2 separate regions of the Homo sapiens genome follow, and region 2 is linked to region 1. The links are contacts of gene promoters, found by promoter capture Hi-C in blood cells and fetal thymus (Javierre and others, 2016). All regions are on one chromosome and are shown on one strand. Each heading gives the region's core, a stretch centred on a gene start or on the middle of the fragment in contact. The rest is flanking DNA. Distances are from core to core; before and after follow the strand shown.

What was found. The method cuts DNA at HindIII sites, captures the fragments that hold promoters and counts their contacts. A CHiCAGO score of 5 or more calls a contact.
Region 2: a fragment that was not itself captured here is called in contact with the fragment with the promoter of LIMD1-AS1 in region 1 in 3 of 17 cell types (fetal thymus, erythroblasts and megakaryocytes); the score reaches 9.5 in fetal thymus.

The regions. Positions count from the first base shown.
Region 1 is chr3:45,686,942-45,690,556 of GRCh38, reverse strand. It overlaps LIMD1-AS1 (LIMD1 antisense RNA 1), which reads left to right and starts at 1,675. Exons shown (of 3, transcript NR_033947.1): 1 at 1,675-2,181. It overlaps SACM1L (SAC1 like phosphatidylinositide phosphatase), which reads right to left and starts at 1,161. Exons shown (of 20, transcript NM_014016.5): 1 at 1,060-1,161. The coding sequence starts at 1,091. It overlaps TRR-ACG2-1 (tRNA-Arg (anticodon ACG) 2-1), which reads left to right and starts at 1,486; the gene lies at 1,486-1,558. RefSeq lists a silencer at 970-1,149 and enhancers at 1,180-1,469, 1,730-1,779, 2,290-2,359. The HindIII fragment of the contact is 5,339 bases long and covers 142-3,615 here.
Region 2 is chr3:45,042,940-45,046,554 of GRCh38, reverse strand. No RefSeq gene overlaps it. Among named protein-coding and RNA genes, the nearest start is that of CLEC3B, 18 kb to the right of the region's middle. The HindIII fragment of the contact is 1,682 bases long and covers 950-2,631 here.

The DNA of each region.
Region 1 (3,615 bases), core at 426-2,925:
TCAGAAAGTTACTAGTGAGGTTGAGGTCTGAGGAGCTTAAGTGCCCAAACCACATTTTGGTGTCATTTCCCTGCAAAAGAAATGCGGTATCTATGCCTAACTGCCAAGGTATTTTAGCTCATATACAGGGATAGATAAGCTTCTAAAAAATTACATTTGTTTCTCCTACCAGATATTCCCAGGCTGTGGCCACCAGATTTTCAAACAGCCTAGGGGTAAAGCATTAAACACGAAGTGAGTACAACAAAATTATTCACAGACAAGAAAAGTGTGGATGCTAATGGGTAACACTAAGGGAAATAAACACATGTTGTTTTTAATCCAAGACAAACCAAAACCCTTAAAAACACCTATTTTATAACTCTTAACAACCACAGCCTCTGTATCAAAGACTCAAGAACTTGGATTTACCGAAAAGTCAATTTGCAGTACCAAAATTACCGAGATTAGCCTCTGGCTGTCGACACTGACTTAAGAACCTGCTTTAGGCTGGAGCTGTTTAAAATTTAAACCAAAGTAAACTCCTTCAGGACCTTAAGACTACTGACTGTACTTTAAATTTTTTCTGCACACTGAAGAGGGGGCAGGCAGGCTTCGGTACCCAGATAGGCTGTAAGCAAAACAAAGATTTGTTGATTTGTGCGTAGACTCTAAATTGCTGCTGTAGGTCCGTTAAGTAAGAGAAAACTCTTTTTCTCTGTTAAGTCATACAGATAAATTTAGTCGGTAGCTCTGCATAGAAAGTGGGGACAAGCGTGCCCTGAAGGGCCGCATCATAACGCCGACCCCGGCTCGGTGGGGGCCAGTCGGCAGCTTCTCTCTTCAGCCGTGGGCGCTGGGGCCGAGCACGGTGGAGAAAGGCCGGCGAGCCGCTGGTTCCCGGCCTATGGCTACTCGGGCGAGGCCTAGGAGAGGCCGCGCCGGCTGAGGAAAACCGGTAAATGCGAGGAGCTCCCACACCCTATCTGCAATCCGGGACTCAGAAGCCCTCCCCGAGGCCAGGGCCCGCACCTGCCGCCCCGCCCGCCGCGCCTCAGGCCTCTGGCCCGTGGGACTCACAGCTTCAGCTGCTCGTAGGCCGCCGTCGCCATCCTGCACAACCACCTCCTTCCTTCTCTCTCCGCCCGCCCCGCCCCGCGCCGCCACCTCGGCTACAACTCTACCGGTCACCCTGGCACAGCGGCCGCAGCTCCCAGCCTCTTCCCACCCCTTTCCCCGCCCCGCAGGAGAGCCGGCCTGAACGGGAGGCGGTGGAGGACAAATTAGTGCGCAAGCAAGAGCACGCGAGAGATGCCGCCGACGCGGCGGGTTGGAGTGCGACGAAGAGCGCCGTGACGAAGCCGCTGCGGATTGGTGGGGCGCGTTTTGGGGAAAGGCAGAGCAGCGGGAGCGCGGCGCAAGGGCAAAATGGATCGTTGGTACCCGGAAGCCCGTTCAAACTGTATAAGGGTGATCAGCTATCACGGAGAAGGCTTTAGCAAGTCGGGGCCAGTGGCGCAATGGATAACGCGTCTGACTACGGATCAGAAGATTCTAGGTTCGACTCCTGGCTGGCTCGCGATGTCTGTTTTGCCACACTTGACCCATGTACTACTGGGTCTTGTAAAGATGTATATTCACAATGTGAAAGTATTACAAGACCTTGGAAAGGTGTATGGTTAGAATGTGAAAGTTAAATATCTGAAATTTTGATGCCGCTTTGCTCACAATGTCATCCTTTATCCTTTAAACCTGGAGTTGTCTGAGGTGGTTTGCAAACTGCAAAGCGCCCTGTTCCCAATGATGCACCTGAGAAGTCTGTAAATGGGGTAAATTTAGGCAAACACACCTGGAAAAGTGGCATTTTGGAGTGGGGAATGCTGTGGCCGGAGGTTAGCAACCGGATGATGCAAAAGCGTATTTAAGGCAGCAGTTCTGGCCTTTCCCCGCCACGGAGCAGAAGCCCCCATAGTGATGTGAGAAGCGGCGCTGTCCCAGTTTACTAGGATGGGATGGGCTTTGGATCTAACCAGCAGCGAAGAAAACCTGCGGTGCGGCTGCGCTCGGTAGTAGGGGTCCACAAAGCGTCAGAATCTGCAGCAGCCCCGGCCTTTGCGAGCTCCAGCTCCGAAGTCAACCCGGCCCCCAAATTCCACTGGGAAACCTTAAGACACCGGTGTTTTTACCGTAAGAAGACCTCAGGTAATCTAGTATATTACCCCTCATTGTATGGATGCGCGACTTGGACACCCGAGAAGGCGCGAAACGTCTGCGGCCTAAAGGGACTCGAACCGGGGGATTATATGAGTCATCGGACACTGTCCGTTAACCAATCACTCAATCGATCAATTAATTTCCGCAACATAACGTTTTCCCCTGATAAAATTATAGATTTTTAAAATATATAAAATTATTGGGAATATTAACGCGATTCCCACCCTAAATCATTACTATTATTTTTTTTTTCCTTAAAGCCTTTTTTTCTTCTATATTTTTTAACATGGGCATACTTGCACATGTGTTTTTCCAAATTGGGGTTGTACGGAAATGGGTTCCTCATTTTGTCTCCTTACCTTTTTGTCTGAGATTTAAGGTCATTAAATATTCTTTGAAGATATTTCATCAGAGAGCTAGATATTTTAAGCAGAATCCTTATGCTGGGAATTTGGGTGGTTGTCAGTTTAACACCTAGAAAAAATGATGCTGCTTAGGAGTTCGAGACCAGCCTGGGCAACATAGCAAGACCTCATCTCTATTTACTAAATAAATAAATAAATTTTAATTAGCCAGGTGTGGTGGTGTGCACCTATAGTCCTAGCTACTCAGGAGGCTGAGGTGGGAGGATCACCTCAGCCCAGGAGGTTGAGGCTGCAGTGAGCTGTTACCATGCCACTGCACTCCAGCCTGAGCAACAGAATGAGACCCTGTGTTGAATTATTATTATTTTGAGACGGAGTCTCGCTCTGTCACCCAGGCTGGAGTGCAGTGGCGTGATCTCGGCTTACTGCAGTCTCTGCCTCCCGGGTTCAAGCAATTCTCCTGCTTCAGCCTCCCAAGTAACTGGGACTACAGGTGTGTGCCACCACGCCCGACTAATTTTTTGTATTTTTTAGTAGAGACGGGGTTTCACCGTGTTAGCAAGGATGGTCTTGATCTACTGATCTCGTGATCCGCCCACCTCAGCCTCCCAAAGTGCTGGGGTTAGATGTGAGCCACTGTGCCCGGCCGAATTATTTGTCTTACAAATTTCTAGAGGTGGAACGACCAGGTGGACATCTGTAAGGTCCATTTTATGGACATTTTTAAGACTTTTGTTACTTTCTGACTGCCCTCCAAAAAATTAAACCAAAACACACTTCCATCAACAGCACCTGTTTCTCTGTTTTCGTGCATGCTAACCAACACTGGCTATTATAAATTTAACCGTGATTTGCAATTTTCATAATTGGAATATGGAACTTCCTTTTACATGTACTTTATATATTTTCTCTTGATGTATTGAATTTTTTCTTACAAATTTGATTTTTTAATATATTAAGGGTATTAACTCTTAAATACGTTGCAATCTTTTTTCCAGCTTATGATTTACCTTTTCAAAATTTTTTTAACGGCTGGGCACGGTGGCTCATGCCTGTA
Region 2 (3,615 bases), core at 541-3,040, 640 kb after region 1:
CTAAAAATACAAAAATTAGCCAGGCGTGGTGGCCCGTGCCTGTAATCTCAGCTACTTAGGAGGCTGAGGCAGGAGAACTGCTTGAAGCCAGGAGGTGGAGGTTGCAGTGAGCCAAGATTGCACCATTGCACTCCAGCCTGGGTGACAGAGTGAGACTCTGTCTGAAAAAAAAAAGAAAGAAAGAAAGAAAGTACAATGTTAAGTGTATGTAAGCCCCCAGTTGGGCTCCATCCACCTCCACCCAGCTCTGTGCCCTGGGAGTCTGACCAGACTGCATTGCCCGGACCCACGGCTAGCTGGCTTCCAGCTGGCTTCCCCCAGTGGAAAGCACCTGCAAGAGTTAAGAGGTTGTACAGAGGCAGGTGCTGGGCTCTTTCCTCCCAGTCTCCTCTGTGTGCTTTGCTGCATTTTCTGTCTATGGCTATGTCCTCCACCGAGAGATCGCTTATTGCGTGGACCGGCTATGGCTCCAGCAGCATTATTTCCTCCTGTGGCCTTCTGCCTGACAGGGTACTTCCCGCTGTGGCCAGCCTCTGAATGCCTTAATATCCCTTGTCGTTTTGCTGAATAGTACCCAGAGCTGTGTAAGTATGGGAAGCACTCACTTTGCACAGTAGTCTAGGACTGTAAAATGGCCATGTAAGCTGAAACCATGCAAAACAATCTTAATAATCGATGGGGAAGAGGACGATTGTCCTCTGACCTTTCAAAAATGTTTGTCAAAACATTAAACTTTCTTACTGTCAGTAAGAGAAAAAGTCGCAAAAATTGATATTAAATACACTAATTGAAAACATTAGAAACATTGGAAATTAAAGTGTTTTCTTTGTGAAAATCTTACCGAGAACCGTTTGGACAGTGCTTGCCACTTCCTTCCCATTATATATAGATTTCGATTCAGTGGGTATCTTTTCTATTCCCGGAAAATTGTCATCCTCCTTCTCAAGCTTGGATTAGTTCTTACATTTTATCTTTCTTGCTTTCAATGTCACAAAATATCTCTAAGAATTCCTTTTCGTGGTTTTTTGCTGGCATCATTTCCTCCAGGACATCTTTATCCTTTTTGCCACAGGCACTGTTGTCATTTATGTAGATAAGCTCACGGTCACTACGTTCCTCTGGTTGCATATCCAGAACTTCAAACAGCAGCAGCATCCACCTTCCCACAGTCAGCTTTTTCTTTTCTAACTCCATTTATATTCTACACAAACCTCACTTCCATCATTCTCACTTTGCATTTCTTTGCTGCATTTTTATCTTTATTAGTCAGTTCCCTCTTTCAATTATCCATTTTTGTAAACTGTCACATGAATTTCTCACCAGAAGACAAAGTGCAACACAACTACACACTGTGCTGCCAGTGGATGAGCTGAATAACAGGCACATGGTGCCCAGTCACCAATACACTTTGAAAGAAGCAATGTGGTGGGTCACTGATCATGCAGCATATCTGTTAGTGATGTGTGGCCTGAAGAGTTAGCAGTGAAATTATACTTTAGCAAGGGGCCAGGTGCAGTGGCTCACACTTGTAATCCCAGCACTTTGGGAGGCCGAGGGGGGGACATCACTTGAGGTCAGGAGTTTGAGACCAGCCTGGCCAACATGGTGAAACCCCATCTCTACTAAAAATACAAAAATTAGCCAGGTATGGTGGCATGTGCCTGTAGTCCCAGCTATTCAGGAGGCTGGGGCTGGAGAATCACTTGAACCCAGGAGGCAGAGTTTGCAGTGAGCCGAGATCATGCCACTGCACTCCAGCCTGGATGACAGAGCAAGACTCCATCTCAATAAATAAAAAATAAAATAAAATAAAATTATACTTTACCAGTATAACAATGTAGCTGAAATTTGAACTATCTGGTTGGGGGACTGTGTTATTTAACTAAAACATGATCATTGATATTTAAGCATATCAGAACTGTATAAATTGAGGACTGCCTGTAATCCTTTCAGTCTTTTTTTTTTTTTTTGAGACAGAATCACACTCTGTTGCCCAGGCTGGAGTGCAGTGGTGCGATCTCGGCTCACTGCAACCTCTGTCTCCTGAGTCCCAGTGATTCTCCTGCCTCAGCCTCCCAAGTAGCTGGGATTACAGGTACGTGCCACCATGCCCAGCTAATTTTTGTATTTTTAGTAAAGATGGGGTTTCAGCATGTTGGCCAGGCTTGTCACAAACTCCTGACCTCAGGTGATCTGCCCACCTTGTCCTCCCAAAGTGCTGGGATTACAGGCTTAAGCCACCAGGCCCGGCCTCATTACAGTCTTTTGAACTGAGTTGGAATCTGTTTCCTACTGGGACATGACTGGTAAAAGGGTGCAACTAACTCTCCAAGGGAGTGGGAGAATAAAAAAGCTGTGCAAAGTTTAGTCAAGCTCTGCCACAGAGTCACAGAGCCAGCAATCAATGATCCTACCATGCAGGAATAGGCAGGTAGGAAGCTACTTAGGGGCATAGCACTCTCCTAGGTTCATGCTCTTTAAGAAGAGGCCTCTTGAGAGGGCTAATTCCAAAGCAAAGGCTGAGAAAGCCATGCTTAGGAACTAGGAATTTGTTGAAAAGGAACTAGGATTTAACCCAGCCGCACAATTGAAAACATTCTTCCTCTACTGAAAGACTCATAGGAGCAAGCTTTTGGGAACCAGACGGATGAGTCATCATTTAGTCTTCAAGATCTTTTAATTCTCCTGCCCCCTAGTTTCCAGTTCCCTCCAACATTCAGGCTTTGGGTCTGCAATGGCTCCATGACACAAACTTCTAGTTGCTTCCCATTTGCCCTTTCCTTAAAGAGTTTAATTTAATTTGGGTGTCAAGGTAACTACTTAAAAGATTGCACTTCTCAGCCTTCCTTACAGCTACACACTGGAAAAAGTTCTGGCCTATGCGATAGATATAAGGAAAAGAGAACACTCCTTAAAGGAAGCTGACTGGAGGCCAGGCACGGTGGCTCATGCCTGTAATCCCAGCAGTTTGGGAGGCCGAGCCGGGCAGATCACCTAAGGTCGGGAGTTCAAGACTAGCCTGACCAACATGGAGAAAACCCGCCTCTACTAAAAATACAAAATTAGCCAGGCATGGTGGCGCATGCCTGTAATCCCAGCTACTAAGGAGGCTGAGGCAGGAGAATCGCTTGAACCTGGGAGGCAGAGGTTGTGGTGAGCTGAGATCACGCCATTGCACTCCAGCCTGGGCAATAAGAGTGAAACTCCATCTCAAGAAAAAAAAAAAAAAAAAGGAAGCTGACTCGACCTTTCTTACCCATTCTTCCTTTCTGAAGTGGGGATAATAATGGCTGGAGCTCCAGCAGCCATCATGGACCCTGAGGTGACCTCAAAGATGGAAGCTCCATGCTAGGATGGTAGAGTGGAAAAATAGAAGGAACTTTGATCTCCAATGACCATGAAGTGGCCAGACCAGCACTGGACTACCTGGCTCAAGTTTTCTGTCTTGTTTAAGTCTCTGTTTTTATTTTTTTAATATATTTTATTTTATTATTCTTCTTTTTAAAGATGAGAGTCTTGCTATATTGCTTAGGCTGGTCTCAAACTCCTGGGCTCAAGCAATCATCCTGTTTCAGCCTCCTGAGTAGCTGGGATTACAGGAGTGGGCCATCATAC